Regions from separate parts of the Homo sapiens genome. Here region 2 is linked to region 1. Evidence: promoter capture Hi-C in human tissues and cell types (Jung and others, 2019). All regions are on one chromosome and are shown on one strand. The core of a region is centred on a gene start or on the middle of the fragment in contact, and the rest is flanking DNA. Distances in the headings are between cores, read along the strand shown. Region 1 holds the start of SCGN (secretagogin, EF-hand calcium binding protein). Region 2 has its middle 73 kb from the start of CARMIL1.

Region 1 (6,841 bases), core at 1,725-4,224:
ATCCCATTTATTCCAAGATTTTGAATGGTTTTAACTTTGTCTTTTTGCTTTCCTCAAATACCCATGTCCATGATAGATAAGATGGGTTTCTGGAACACGATGAACCTTACATTTACAGATATAAGTAGAAGCCCTGTGGGCAAGGCTGGTGGGCTTCACCATGGGCTGCTAGCACGTGAAAGTGGCTGGCTAGATTGAAGCAGAAGCCTCACTTGGGGGAGGCTTCCTCAGCTCTACCTGTAGCTTGTGTAGGTACAAGAATGAAGGATAAAGAGGAGTGTGCGCAAGTGGTCTGACCAGAGGAAAGAAGGGACTTGTGTCTCTATCCTTCTCGTCTGCTGATCCTTTCACTTCACAGGCTGCACAGGGTAAGGGGTGGAGTGCAGGCAGACAAAGAGCAATAAAAGGTACAGAAAAAGGGAGATAAGAGACAAAGAAAAGGGTGAAGGAGAAAATGTGGAGAAAAGAAATGAAGGTCAAAAAGAGAGATGGGAAAGAAAGAAGAAAGGAGAAATAAAAGACATGGGGAGAGGAAAGACCAAAAGAGCTTTGAGAAGCAGAGAGACTGGAAAAAGAATGGGAAAACACAGAGACAGAGAGATGGAGAAACAAATGAGAAACAGAGACAAGAAAGATGGGCAACAGAGAGGTCAGAGAGAAAGGCAAGAAACAGTAGGAGATGAGAGCCATGAAACACAGAGATAAGAAACAGAAGTGAGCAGAAAAATGACAGAGATAGACATAAAAAAGAGAGACAGACAGAATATGAGAGGCAGACAGAAGTAGAGGGGGACCAAGAGATCTGTGTGGCTGAAGAAGGCGGAAGCCAGCCCTTTTGTTTCTGAACCAGCTTCCCCTGCCCCCCACATACCCTCCCCATGTTCTCAACAGTGGTGAAGAGCTCCTTGTTCCCTCACTGAGCTCTCACATGAGAATGTGATGCACTTCTATTCTTCAGATAAACAGCTGAATGATAAGGACAAACTATCTCCATCATTCATTTAAATTCAATTGTCCCTAGAGCGTCTCCTTCTACTATGAATGCCCTACTGGAGCTTTCATCAGATCGAGCCCATCCCCAGGCTGTCCTCCGCTCATGTGTTTCTGTGTAAAATTTTTCTCTGCTTTGATAGAGAGACTTTCAAGAGTTCATTTACATCTCCCAAGGACATATTTACCATCAGATGGACACTAGATAGATTGGCTTCCATTTGTATCTGGGCTCTGAGTATGCTGGTTGTTTTCTGGTTTGTCATTCCCTGAAAAATCTGTAACCTCTTCTAATAAAATGAATAATGGATAAATGATTTTAAATGGTTTGTGGTTTGCTATCAGAGGAGTATCATACATATTAAACACCCAAAATCTTAATGTGCTTAACATCTTTTCCAGCTTTTTGAACAAAGTGGGCTACTTTACCCCCAGGTATAAATCAATTAGCAGAGACATAACCAAGGAGACGTTCAAGACCAAGTTAACTGAGTCTACAGTTAGGATCTCTGAGTGGATGACAGATGTTACACTGAAAGTCAGTAACCAGCATGTCTAATGCTACAGTTGCACCTTTTATAAAAACTGCCTAAATCCCTCTATGTTGCTAGGAGAGGGGGAGAAATTACATACATGCAAGGAAGAAAGGAGGTGAGTTGGAATTAATAGGTACCAATCAATATAAGACTTGGATGTGCGTATCTTACTAAGAGGCATAAATTAAGGCTTAGTGTGCAAGTACTTACATCAGTACCCAGTTTCATCAACATGTGGAGAAAGAAAGCATCGAGTTCCTTCTCTTCTATGTAACCTTTTTCTAAATGTGAGAAAATAAACATAAATAATACTAACATATAAAAAACACATGACAGTATTTATCTAAATATGTTTTTAATCTCACAATTCATAAAGCTTCCCTCAACACTATTTTTTGTTATTCCAATAACAAAGTGCCAACACCTACCTCTAGAATACATGGGTTTGAACAGTAAACACTGTTCCAGAATACGTGCTTTATGCTAGGGTTTATATTAGTGCTTGGAAAAGGAAGGCTATTAAGTACATGAATTTTAATCAATGAATAAACGTGAACTTTCCAATAAAATTTAACCCCAAAATTTCTGAAGCTTGGAGAAACTTAACAGGTGTAAGTATTGAATCCCAGTTTGCAGAGTTAAAACACACCTTTTAGATATTTTATTTCTTTATTAATAAAAACAAATATTAAGTAGTTCCATTTTATTTTCAAGTAGTTTTTTGGTGGAGGAGTCGTTTTGAAAGCTGATAAAATTTATTCTCATTTTGAGAGAGTGAGGGGTGTACAGCAAAGTCACTGCGTAAAAGTGAGCCCATTTAGGGAAGGATGACTTCAAATAGCTGAGTCTCAGCCCACAAGCCTTGAACATATACAATGATATTAGTCATTGTATATACAATATATATGTATGTCTACCATATATATGGCGCGCTCGCACACAAAGAGAGATTGGAAAGGGGAAAGTGGAAATTCACCACCCAGAATTTTAACAAGGTATATAGATGTGTATCACCAGTATGCCAAACGTCTGTTAATGATACTGTATTAGGTACACTGCATTAACAACCCAGGTCGATAACTTTTCCTACAGTAAAGGGGAAACTCCAGGTCCTTTCAGCGGGCTGAGCTTGGAGCCACGTCTACACCTGAGTGTGCAAGTGGCTTGTTCTACTCACCATCCGCATCAAAGCGCTGCCAGACCTGCCAGAAGCCAGCGGCGTCCAAGCGCCCCAGAGTCGGTTCCCGGGAGCTGTCCATGGTGTTGACGACGAAGACCAGGCACCGGCGCGGAAGGACCTAGACAACTTTGGGAAGGACTCCTTCACCGTATTTCTTGACTTGCTCTCCTGCTTCTTTCGCTATCTGATTAGCTTTGAGTAACTGTTGCTGGGGAGGACGCGAGCGCTGCTGGCCGTGGCGTCGCTGAGCCGTCCCTCAGCCCTCAGCAAAACCAGCGGCTGGAAGCCCGCCCCGCTCCTGGCGCGCCTGTCCCCGCCCCGCCCTGCGCGCTGTCCTGGCAGATCCTGTCTGTCTCTGCGCTTTGGGGAATTCAGGAAGAAAGAAACTGTCTCCAGGCGTCCACGGCTCACTGCTTTTGCCCTTTAACTTGCTTCTCAGACTCGGAGAAGACATCCCTCTTACGTTTGACTCACTTTCCAAACTTGTGTCTCAAGGGGTTTTCTAGGGAGAGCTGCCTCATTTAAAGGGTTGCAAGAAGTGTCAGTGTTAGGGTCCTTTGGACTTGAGGATTTAGAAATGTAGTGTGTGGAGAGGGGAGGCGAGAAGGGATGGTGATGGTGGTAAGTGGTTCCCTTTAAGGAAGAAGTCAACAGCAATTATTGAGTCCTGATTGTATAGGACATACACATTGCTGTACCAAAATGCACTATAAGGACTTGCAACTAAACAGGGATACTGCAAGTCACTGTGATTTAAAGTAGCATCATTAGGATGCTGAGGAAAATATAAACTAAGCCGTACTCTGCCAGGAAAAGAGAGTCTGGGGGAGATGTGTCTGCCTGCAGGGTACTTAGGTAGAAGGCTTAGATGATTGTGTTTGGCTCCTAAGAGCCACATTAAGACCAAAGGATAAAAATCAGTTGGAGGAACACAGAGCTTTCTAACAATCAGGACTGTTCAAAATTGGGCAAGGCTTTGTGGAAACGTGTACAAACTACACTGATACCTTTTGACTATATATTTAGAAATTTTCGTTGGATAATCTATAGAAAGTGCTTGGATATTAGATAAGAAAGTTGAACCAGATGTAACTTTTCTTTATGGCACCCTGACTCTGGTTTTAGCATTCAGATTTATTTATAAAAAGCATGCATGTATAAGTCATCTAAACCAGAGTAGTGAAAAGAACATGACACTCAAGGTCAGATAGTCCTGGGTCAGGATCTGAGTTCCATTATTTACCAGCTTTGTGAACTGCACCATTAGTTCTCATCTCCCTAAGCCTCAATTTTCTTATCTATAAAATGAGGATTAAAACATCTGTTTTGGAGGGTTGCTGTGAGGATCAGAACCATACATAGTAATGCACAATGAATTATATCTGCTATGGTGTTGTAGCTGATGAGGGATGACTCTGTTAGAGAAAACAAGTAAAGTCTAAGAGATTGTCATAGCCAAGAGGAACCTAATGAAAAATGACAAAGAAATGTAATGTTTTATCCTGGGTGTGATGCCGGAACAGAAAAAGGCCATTAGGTAAAAATTAAGAAAATTTTAATAAACACGGACTTTAGTTAATAATAATGAAAAAAATGGTTCAGAAGAAAACAGTTCTGGGTTCAGGGCCCAGCTTTGCCTCTTACTAGTTGTGTGTGATATTGGGCAAGTTACTCAAAAGAAGCCTCACTTTCTTTGTAAAATGGGAATAATAGTAGTATTTACCCCGTGTTATTATCATAAAGGTCAAATTAAAAAATCATATAAACCTATTGTCACAGTATATACAGTAACATTCAGTGTAAGTTAGCTACTAAAATGATGAATCTTCCATACATACATACATATTTGGAAGACGGTGAAGTAAACTTCAGGATTTTTGAGGAGTGTGGCTTAGCCTAAAGGAAGAAAAGCAGTATTATCACCGATTAAGCAAGTGCTGGTTACAAAAATTGGAGAAAAGCATATGTAGCATAGGAGGGTGTAAGGGTTCAGTATCTGTAATTATCATCTGTGACTTTAGGAAATTAGTGGATACAATGTCAAGCACCAGTTAGGAAAAGTAATTGGTATGAACCCACCAGGGCTGATCTTGTTTTCTGATAAATAGTGGAAAAAGATAAAACAAGGCAGATTTCAGAAGTAATAATCAAGATCTAATGTGGAGGGATGGTTAAATAAATGATAGTAAATATCTATGATGGGCTTTGCTGCATACACAGAAATCTTGATTTTGAAGCTTGATGATCCAGAAAACTCAAAACATAAGGTTAAGATTAAAAAGCAAGTTACAAAAGTGTACATATATGATGACTCAATTCTGTAAAATAAAATACATGTTTCTACACATAGAAAACATGGAAGATATACATTAATGACATTAATGATATGTTTCTCTGGAGTGGGGAAGAGGGAGGCTCACAGATGATTTCAATTTTGCTATTTGTAATTCTTTTGTCTTAAAACTTTGTGCAGTAAGCATATAATGCAAGCTATTATACTTTTTTAAAGTTGTAAAAGTGAAATCTAGGGAAAGAAGAGGAAAAGTACAGCCGCAAAGATTACTGTTCTCAGGACTGGAGAACAAACAGAACTTGGAACACTTTCCAGGAGCCTGTCATCTGGAGCTCTCTGGGGAGCTGCAATCTCCATTCAATGACTTATTTCCTGTTTTCTTTGCATCCAAATATTTATCATGGCACTGGGTAGGGAGATACTGCTTAGGAATCCTGCATTCCCTCATAAAAGTTTCTCTTTGAGAAAATCATCCAAGCCCTTAACAGAGAAGAGAGCCAGTAGGAAGGTATTTAAAGATCCTACAGGAGACACCTGTAAGACTGTCTCATTGGGAAAGTTCTCCTGCCTAAAAATGGAGTGATGGAGGTGGGGATGAAAGAACCAGAGGTGGTTTATCAGAGTCCCTTCCTGTCCAAAAAGAGAACTCAGAGTAAAGCAAATATTCAGCAGCTGGAATCAAGTTGAAATACATTTTGCATCTTATGGATTAATTAGCACCTTCCACAGAGATTCTGATTTAAATGGTTTGGAGAAAGACCTCTATGCTGATATTTTTTTAAGTGTTCCCCTAGGGATTACACTAGAACCACTGACGAACCTTTTGTCTATAAGTTTCCTGCTGCTCATATTCTGGTCATTTTATTATTTAGGTATGGCATCTCTGAAGGATAATCGAGAAAAGAAAAAACTTCTAAAGAATTAACATTACTTTCTTATTAATACACTGCCTCTTTCAAAGAGAGGTTAGAATTTATACTTATATGTAATCCTGGTAAGTTTTGACAATTGATGGCTGAAACTAGAGACTAAAATCAGTTGTTTTTCTTTTTTCCCTACTGATTTCATTTTCTCCTGCAATCATTTCCTGCTTTTCTCATTAGCATAGCTAATTGATGGTTAGTTGCACAAGAAGAGGCAGTGGTCTGTAATTTGAAGCATTGCTAATTAACTCTGATGCATCCATTCAATTTTAAGCTAAAATATCTGCATCTTTTTACAAACTCAGAATGATATTTCTAACTGGAAATATAAACAATACTCATCTTCATATGTTGTTGAACATTCAAGCTCTGTAGACATCTCACAGACTGTATAGTAGACCTTAGAATTCAAAGAGACAGCCTTGGTTTAAAGCCACACCAGTTCCAAAGGGCCATGCAAGCAGAACAAAAGAAATTGGACAGTGGTTTTCATAAGATAATAAGAAAACACTAGAAATAGAGTTATTTTTAAAATATATACATTTTACTGTTTCCTTTGCAATCACATGAATAGTACAGATAATTTAAACAATATAGATTAGAAAAACTACAAAACAAGAAAGAAAACTTTCTTCCATAATTTTGACATCTAGAGATAACTAGCAATAATAACATATGGGTTTATGTCCTTACAGTAATTTTTTATATGCAGAAAAAGTAGATTATACTGCTCTGTAACTTGCTCATTTCACTTAATATTATGAAGCATGTCATTAAATATTCTTCTATGATATTATTTTAATGTCAGTATTATCATAATTTATTTAATATCCTCTTTTTAGACTTTTCAATTGTCCCTAGGTTTTCACTATCATAAACCTCTGCTGTTACAGCTAAATGTTTGCACACTCTAGTAATT
Region 2 (6,841 bases), core at 2,228-4,727, 450 kb after region 1:
ACGTGAGATGGGTCTCCTGAATGCAGCACACCAATAGGTCTTAACTCCTTATCCAATTGCCAGTCTGTGTCTTTTAATTAGGGCATTTAGCCCATTTACATTTAAGGTTAATATTGTTATGGGTAAATCTGATCCTGTCATCATGATGCTAGCTGGTTATTTTGCACATTAGTTGATGCAATTTCTTCATAGTGTCATTGGTCTTTACATTTTGGTGTGTTTTTGCAGTGGCTGGTACTGGTTTTTCCTTTCCATATTTAGTGCTTCCTTCAGGAGCTCTTCTGGTGGTGACAAAATACCTCAGCATTTGCTTGTCTGGAAAGGATTTTATTTCTCCTTCACTTATGAAGCTTAATTTGACTGGATATGAAATTCTGGATTGAAAATTCTTTCAGAATGTTGAATATTGGCCTCTACCCTCTTCTGGTTTGTAGGGTTTCTACAGAGAGATCAACTGTTAGTCTAATGAGCTTCCCTTTGTAGGTAACTTGACCTTTCTCTCTGGCTGCCCTTAACATTTTTTCTTTTGTTTCAACCTTGGAGTATCTGCAATTATGTGTCTTGGGGTTGCTCTTCTTGAGGAGTATCTTAGTGGTGTTCTCTGTATTTCCTGAATTTGAATGTTGGCCTGTCTTGCTAGGTTGGGGAAGTTCTCCTGGATAATATCCTGAAGTGTGTTTTCCAACTTGGTTCCATTCTCCCCGTCACTTTCAGGTACACCAGTCAATCATAGGTTTGGTCTTTTCCACATAGTACCATATTTCTTGGAGGCTTTGTTTGTTCCTTTTCATTCCTTATTTTTTTTTCTAATCTTGTCTTTACGCCTTATTTTAGTAAGGAGATCTTCAGTCTCTGATACCCTTTCTTCCGCTTGTTGGATTTGGCTATTGATACTTGTGAATGCTTCACACAGTTCTCATGCTGTGTTTTTCAGCTCCATCAGGTCAATTTATGTTCTTCTTTAGACTGGTTATTCTAGTTAGCAGTTCCTGTAATCTTTTATCAAGGTTCTTAGCTTCCTTGCATTGGGTTAGAACATACTCCTTTAGCTCAGAGGAGTTTATTACCCACCTTCTGAAGCCTACTTCTGTCAATTCATCAATCTCATTCTCTATCCAGTTTTGTGTCCTTGCTGGAAAGGAGTTGTGATCATTTGGAGAAGAGGCATTCTGGTTTTTAGAATTTTCAGCATTTTTGTGCTGGTTTTTCCTCATCTTTGTGGATTTATTTACCTTCGATCTTTGGGGATGATGACCTTTGGATTGGGTTTCTGTGTGGGGTTCTTTTTTGTTGATGTTGATGTTGATGTTGTTGCTTTCTGTGCATTAGTTTTTCTTCTAACAGGCCCCTCCTCTGTAAGTCTGCTGCCGTTTGCTGGAGGTCCACTCCAGACCCTGTTTTCCTGGGTATCACCAGTGGAGGCTGCAGAACAGCAAAGATTGCTGCCTGCTCCTTCCTCTGGAAGCTTTGTCCCAGAGGGGCACTGGCCTGATGCCAGCCAGAGCTCTCCTGCATGAGGTGTCTGTCGACCCCTGCTGGGAGGTCTCTCTCAGTCAGGAGGCACGGGGGTCAGGGACCCACCTGAGGAGGCAGGCTGTCCCTTTGCAGAGCTGGTGCACTGTGCTGGGAGAATCCCCCTTGTCAGGATCAGCTGCTCTCTTCAGAGTCAGCAGGCAGGAAAAATTAAATTCGTTGAAGCTGCCCCACAGCTGCCCCTCCCACAGGTGCTCTGTCCCAGGGAGATAAGAGTTTTATCTGTAATCCCCTGACTGGGGCTGCTGCTTTTCCTTCAGAGATGCCCTGCCCAGTGAGGAGGAATCTAGGGAAGCAGTCTGGCCACATCCACTGTGCTGTGCTGTGGTGAATTCTGCCCAGTCCATACCTCCCAGCCTCCTTAGCAGTGTCAGGGGAAAACTAAAGCCTCATAATAGCAGATGCCCCTCCCCCTACCAAGCTTGATTGTCGCAGGTCAACTTCAGACTGCTGTGCTGGCTGTAAGAATTTCAAGCCAGTGGTTCTTAGCTTGCTGGGCTCCTTTAGAGTGGGACCTGCTGAGCCAGACCACTTGGCTCCCTGGCTTCAGCTGCCTTTCCAGGGGAGTGAATGATTCTATCTTGCTTGGGTTCCTGGCACCACTGGGGTATGAAAAAAACTCCTGCAGTTAGCATGGTGTCTGCCCAAACAGCCACCCAATTTTGGGCTTGAAACCCAGTGCCCTGGTGGTGTAGGCACACGAGGGAGCCTCCTGATCTGTGGGTTGCAAAAACCATGGGAAAAGTGCACTACCCAGTCTTGGTAGCACGGTCCCTCACGGCTTCCCTTGGCTTCGGGAGGGAGGTCCCCTGGCTTCTGGCACTTTCCGGGTGAAGTGACACTTCAGCTTGCTTCTGCTTGCTGTCTGTGGGTTGCACCCAATACCTAACCAGTCCCAGTGAAATGAACTGGGTCCCTCAGTTGGAAATGCACCTACCTTCTGCATTGGTCTCACTGGGAGCTGCAGACTGGAGTTATTTCTATTTGGCTATCTTGGCCCCTCCCTAAACACATCTTTTTAAATATGCCATCCAATGTGTTGTCAAAAAATGATTAATTAAAACATGGAATCAAAAATGTACACATTTCTAGGCTTTCAGGGGGGTCCTGACATCTTAGCTGTGGATCTCCCAATACCTGCAGGTCACAGGGCCACAGAAGCTGCACCTCTAGGAGCAGAGGACACAGAGCAGTGAAGAGGAGACCTGGAGCTCTGGCTGCAGTGAGAGACCCAGTTTGCAAAATTTTTATTGCTGCTTTTGTAATTTTGTTGCTTTTCTTTTATTACCTTTCATATATTATATATATATATAAAATATATTATATATATATAATATAAAAAATATATATTATATATAATATAAAATATATATATTATATATATATAAAATATATATTATATATATTATATATATAAAATATATATTATATATATTATATATAAAATATATATATTATATATATATATAAAATATATATATTTTATATATATATAAAATATATATATATTATATTATATATATAAACCTCTCTCATGTATATGTGTGTGTGTGTGTGTGTGTGTGTGCACGCGTGCATGAGTCTTTTTTTATGCTGGTACCACACTGTCTTGCTATGTTGCCCAGCTGATCTCAAGCTGATCTTCTTGTCTCAGTGCCCTGAGTAGCTGGGATTACAAGTGGCTGTAATCACCCGGCTGATCTTTCTTTTATATTAGTCCATGTATTTATTTTTGCTGAAGATCTTCATATCTTCCTATGGGTATGAGTTACTGTAAGTGTCCTTGCATTTCTACCTGAAGGACTACCATTAACATTTTTTATAAGGCAGGTCTAGTGGTAATGAATTTCCTGGGTTTCTGGTTATCTGTGAATGTCTTAACTTTTCCATCATTTTGAAAGACTGTTTTGCCAGATGCAGAATTCTCAGCTGACATTTTCTTTCAGCACTTTATCCCACTGCATTTTGTCCTCCAAAGTATATGCTGAAGAATTGATTGATAGTATTTTTGAAGATTGCTTGTATGTGATGAGTTGCTTCTCTCTTCTCTCAATTCTGTCTTTAACAGTTTGATTATAATATGTTTTGGAGTGGACCACTTTGGAAGCTGAGTTTCTTGGATTTGTATATTAATGTCTTTCATTGTATTTGGGATTTTTTTTAGTCATTATTTCTGCATATAATCTCACTATCTCTTTCTTCTCCTTGGATTCTCATAATGCATATATTAATCTGCTTCATAAGTCCCTTCATCTCTGTTCACTTTTATTTTAGATTTGAAAATTTTGAATGTACTATCTTCCACTGATTTTTTTTTCCTTCTGCCTGTTCACATCTGCTTTGATTTCTCTTGAATAAATGCCTAGGAGTGAAATTGCCGGGTTATGGTTTCAGTATATGTTTAATTTTATAAGAAACTGCCAGACATTTTTGGAAAGTGGCTATGTATTTTACACTTTTATCCATAATGCATCAGAGTTGCTATTGATCTATATTTTTGCCAGCATTTGGTGTTAAAGTCTTCAATTTTAACCATTCTGATGGGTGTGTAATAGTACCTTATTGTAGTTTAAATTTGTGGGTTTTTTGGGCTCTGATAATTAATCTCTGACGGCTAATGATATTGAATACTTTTTCATGTGTTTATTTGCCATTAGTAGATTTTCATTTGTAAAATATCTGTTCAAATATATTGCCCCTTATTTAATTGAGTGGTTTGAACCTTTTAAAGAAACGGAGTTGTGGGAGTTCCTTATCTATTCCAATTATTAGTCCTATGTCACACTTTAGTTTTGAGAATATTTTCTCTTGGTCTGGAGTTTATCTATTTTTTTTTAGTGGTGTATTTTGATTAGGAGCAGCTTTTAATTTGGATAAAGTCTAATTTATCAATTTTTTGATGGTTATGGCCTTCTTTGTCCTTTCCAAGAAACTTTTGCCTACTCCCAAGCCATAAATACATTCTTCCAGAAGTTTCATAGTTTTATTCTTTGTTTAGACCTGTGATCCATTTTGAGTTGACTTTTGTGCAGGTGTGGGGTAAAGGTCAAGGTTCATTTGTTTTCCCATTTGGATTTTCAGTTGTTTCAGTACCATTTGATGAAAAGACTTCTTTTTGCATAAGATTGCTTTGATACTTTTGTTGTTGAAAATTAGTGGACCATATAAATATGAATCTACTTCTAAGCTCTGTTCTATTTATCTACTTGTCTGTTTTTTATGCTGGTACCACACTGTCTTGATTACCATACTTTATAGTAAATCATAGAGATAGATAGTACCAGCCCTTCAAGTTTGTTCTTCTTTTACAAGATGTATTTGGCTATTTTGGGTCCTTTTCATTTATGTGTAAATTTTAGAATCAGCTTGTCAATTTCTTTGAAAGCGCCTTTCAGGATTATGATTTGGGTTGCCATTGAATCTACAGGTAAATTTGAGGAGAATTGACATCTTAACAACATTAAGCCTTCCATCTATGAACAGATGCATTTCTCCATTTACTTCAGTTTTCTTCATTGTCCTTCAGCGATGTTTACAGTTTTCAATGTAGAGGTCTTGCACATCCTTTGTTAAATTTATTTTTAAACATCTAATTGTTTGATATTGAAAATAAAATTTATTTCAAATCATTTGCTTCTAGTATATAAAAACATAATTGCTTTTTATACTAACCTTGCATCTTGCAGCTTTGCGAAACTCATTTATTCTAATAGTTGTTTTGCTGATTACTTGGAATTTTCTACAATGTTGATTAGAAGTGTTGAGAATAGACATCTTTGCTTTTTCTTTTTATCTTAGGGGAAAACATTTATTCCACCACTTCATATGATGTTAAATATAAGTATTTTGTAAATGTTCTTTATCAGATTGAGAAAGTTCCTTCCAATTCTAAACTTACTGAGACTTTTATAAAAATTCACGATAAAATAATAATGAATTTTGCCAAACGGCCTTTTCTGTACCTACTAAAATGATTTTTATTATCTCCTTTATTCTGTTAATATAGTGAATTTCATTTTTTTCAAACAATAAACTAAACTTGCTTCTCTAGGAAAATCTGCAACTGCTCTCAATGTATTCTTTTTAACATATTGCTAGGCTTGACTTGTTAATATATTAAGACTTTTTTCACCTATTTTTCTAGCAGTTTTGTTTTAGAATCCAAAAGCAATATATACTTACAGCAGGGGGGACCTTCAACCAATTTAAAAGTGAATCAATTAAATATAAAAGTTACTTCTTTCTATCCCATCCATCCTCTTAAAGAAATAATCACAATGAACAATTTGATGTGTATTCCTCTCACTTTTTAAATACATGCACAAATATATACAGTTTAAATTCTGCTTTTTCACATAACACTTCCTCATAACATTAAATATTCTCCAAAATATGTATTTTTAATGTATTTAACTATTTTCCTATTGTTGGACATATAGGTCGCATATATTTATTCATTGAGACAGGGTCTCACTGTGTCACTCAGGCTGGAGTGCAATGGTGCGATTATGGTTCACTGCAGCCTTGAACTCCTGGGCTCAAGTAATCCTCCCACCTTAGGCTCCCCAGCAGCTGGGACCACAGGCACATGCCACCACATCTAGCTAATTTTTTGACTTTTTTGTAGAGATGGGGGTCTCACTTTGTTGCCCAGGTTGCTTTCAAACTCCTGGGCTCAAGAGATCCTCCCGCCTTGGCCTCCCAAAGTGTTGGGATTACAGGTGTGAGCCATGGTGCCTGGCCATATTACTTTATTATGGAATGAAACAAAATGTTAAAGATGATGTATGCTGAGAGTACAATGGAGTTACATACCAGGTGCTGAAAAGACTTCTCAAAGTAGATGGCTGTGCTTGAGCTGATTTCTGATAGTTGACAGAGTGCTGAGTTGTTTCATTAAGAATGGAAGACAGGGAGGGAAGGAAGACAAAGTAGGAAAAGCAGAAGGAAGACAGAAATAAAGAAGGGGGAAAAGGACATGAGAAAAAAGATGAAGAAAAAAAATCATTAGTATCATGCTTAGTAGCTGCTCGACATATACAGTGTTCTGAACCACCAGCCCATTTCTCCATCCCATCTTTAAAAGAAAGATCCTTCCAATGTAGTTCACCCTTTCCTTGCAAAATGTTTTTTGTTATTTGAATTTTACTATTTTTAGCTGGTGAAAAGCCAAACAACTCATGGAAAACTTTCCCATGAGGTAATAGGAACCACTGAGCAACATTCCAAATGTCTTATTTCAAGTGATTACACATAAGATTTGTTTTTCTTCTATGCTTTTCTGTTGGATAATGAGGAATATATACAG

Evidence for each region. The method cuts DNA at HindIII sites, captures the fragments that hold promoters and counts their contacts. A contact is called where the count stands out against the background at its distance.
Region 2: a fragment that was not itself captured here is called in contact with the fragment with the promoter of SCGN in region 1 in 1 of the 25 tissues and cell types used here (spleen).

Annotation. Positions count from the first base shown.
Region 1 is chr6:25,648,348-25,655,188 of GRCh38, reverse strand. It overlaps SCGN (secretagogin, EF-hand calcium binding protein), which reads right to left and starts at 2,974. Exons shown (of 11, transcript NM_006998.4): 1 at 2,704-2,974; 2 at 1,737-1,807. The coding sequence starts at 2,785. The HindIII fragment of the contact is 8,573 bases long and covers 595-6,841 here.
Region 2 is chr6:25,202,651-25,209,491 of GRCh38, reverse strand. No RefSeq gene overlaps it. Among named protein-coding and RNA genes, the nearest start is that of CARMIL1, 73 kb to the left of the region's middle. RefSeq lists an enhancer at 1,637-1,931. The HindIII fragment of the contact is 3,534 bases long and covers 1,711-5,244 here.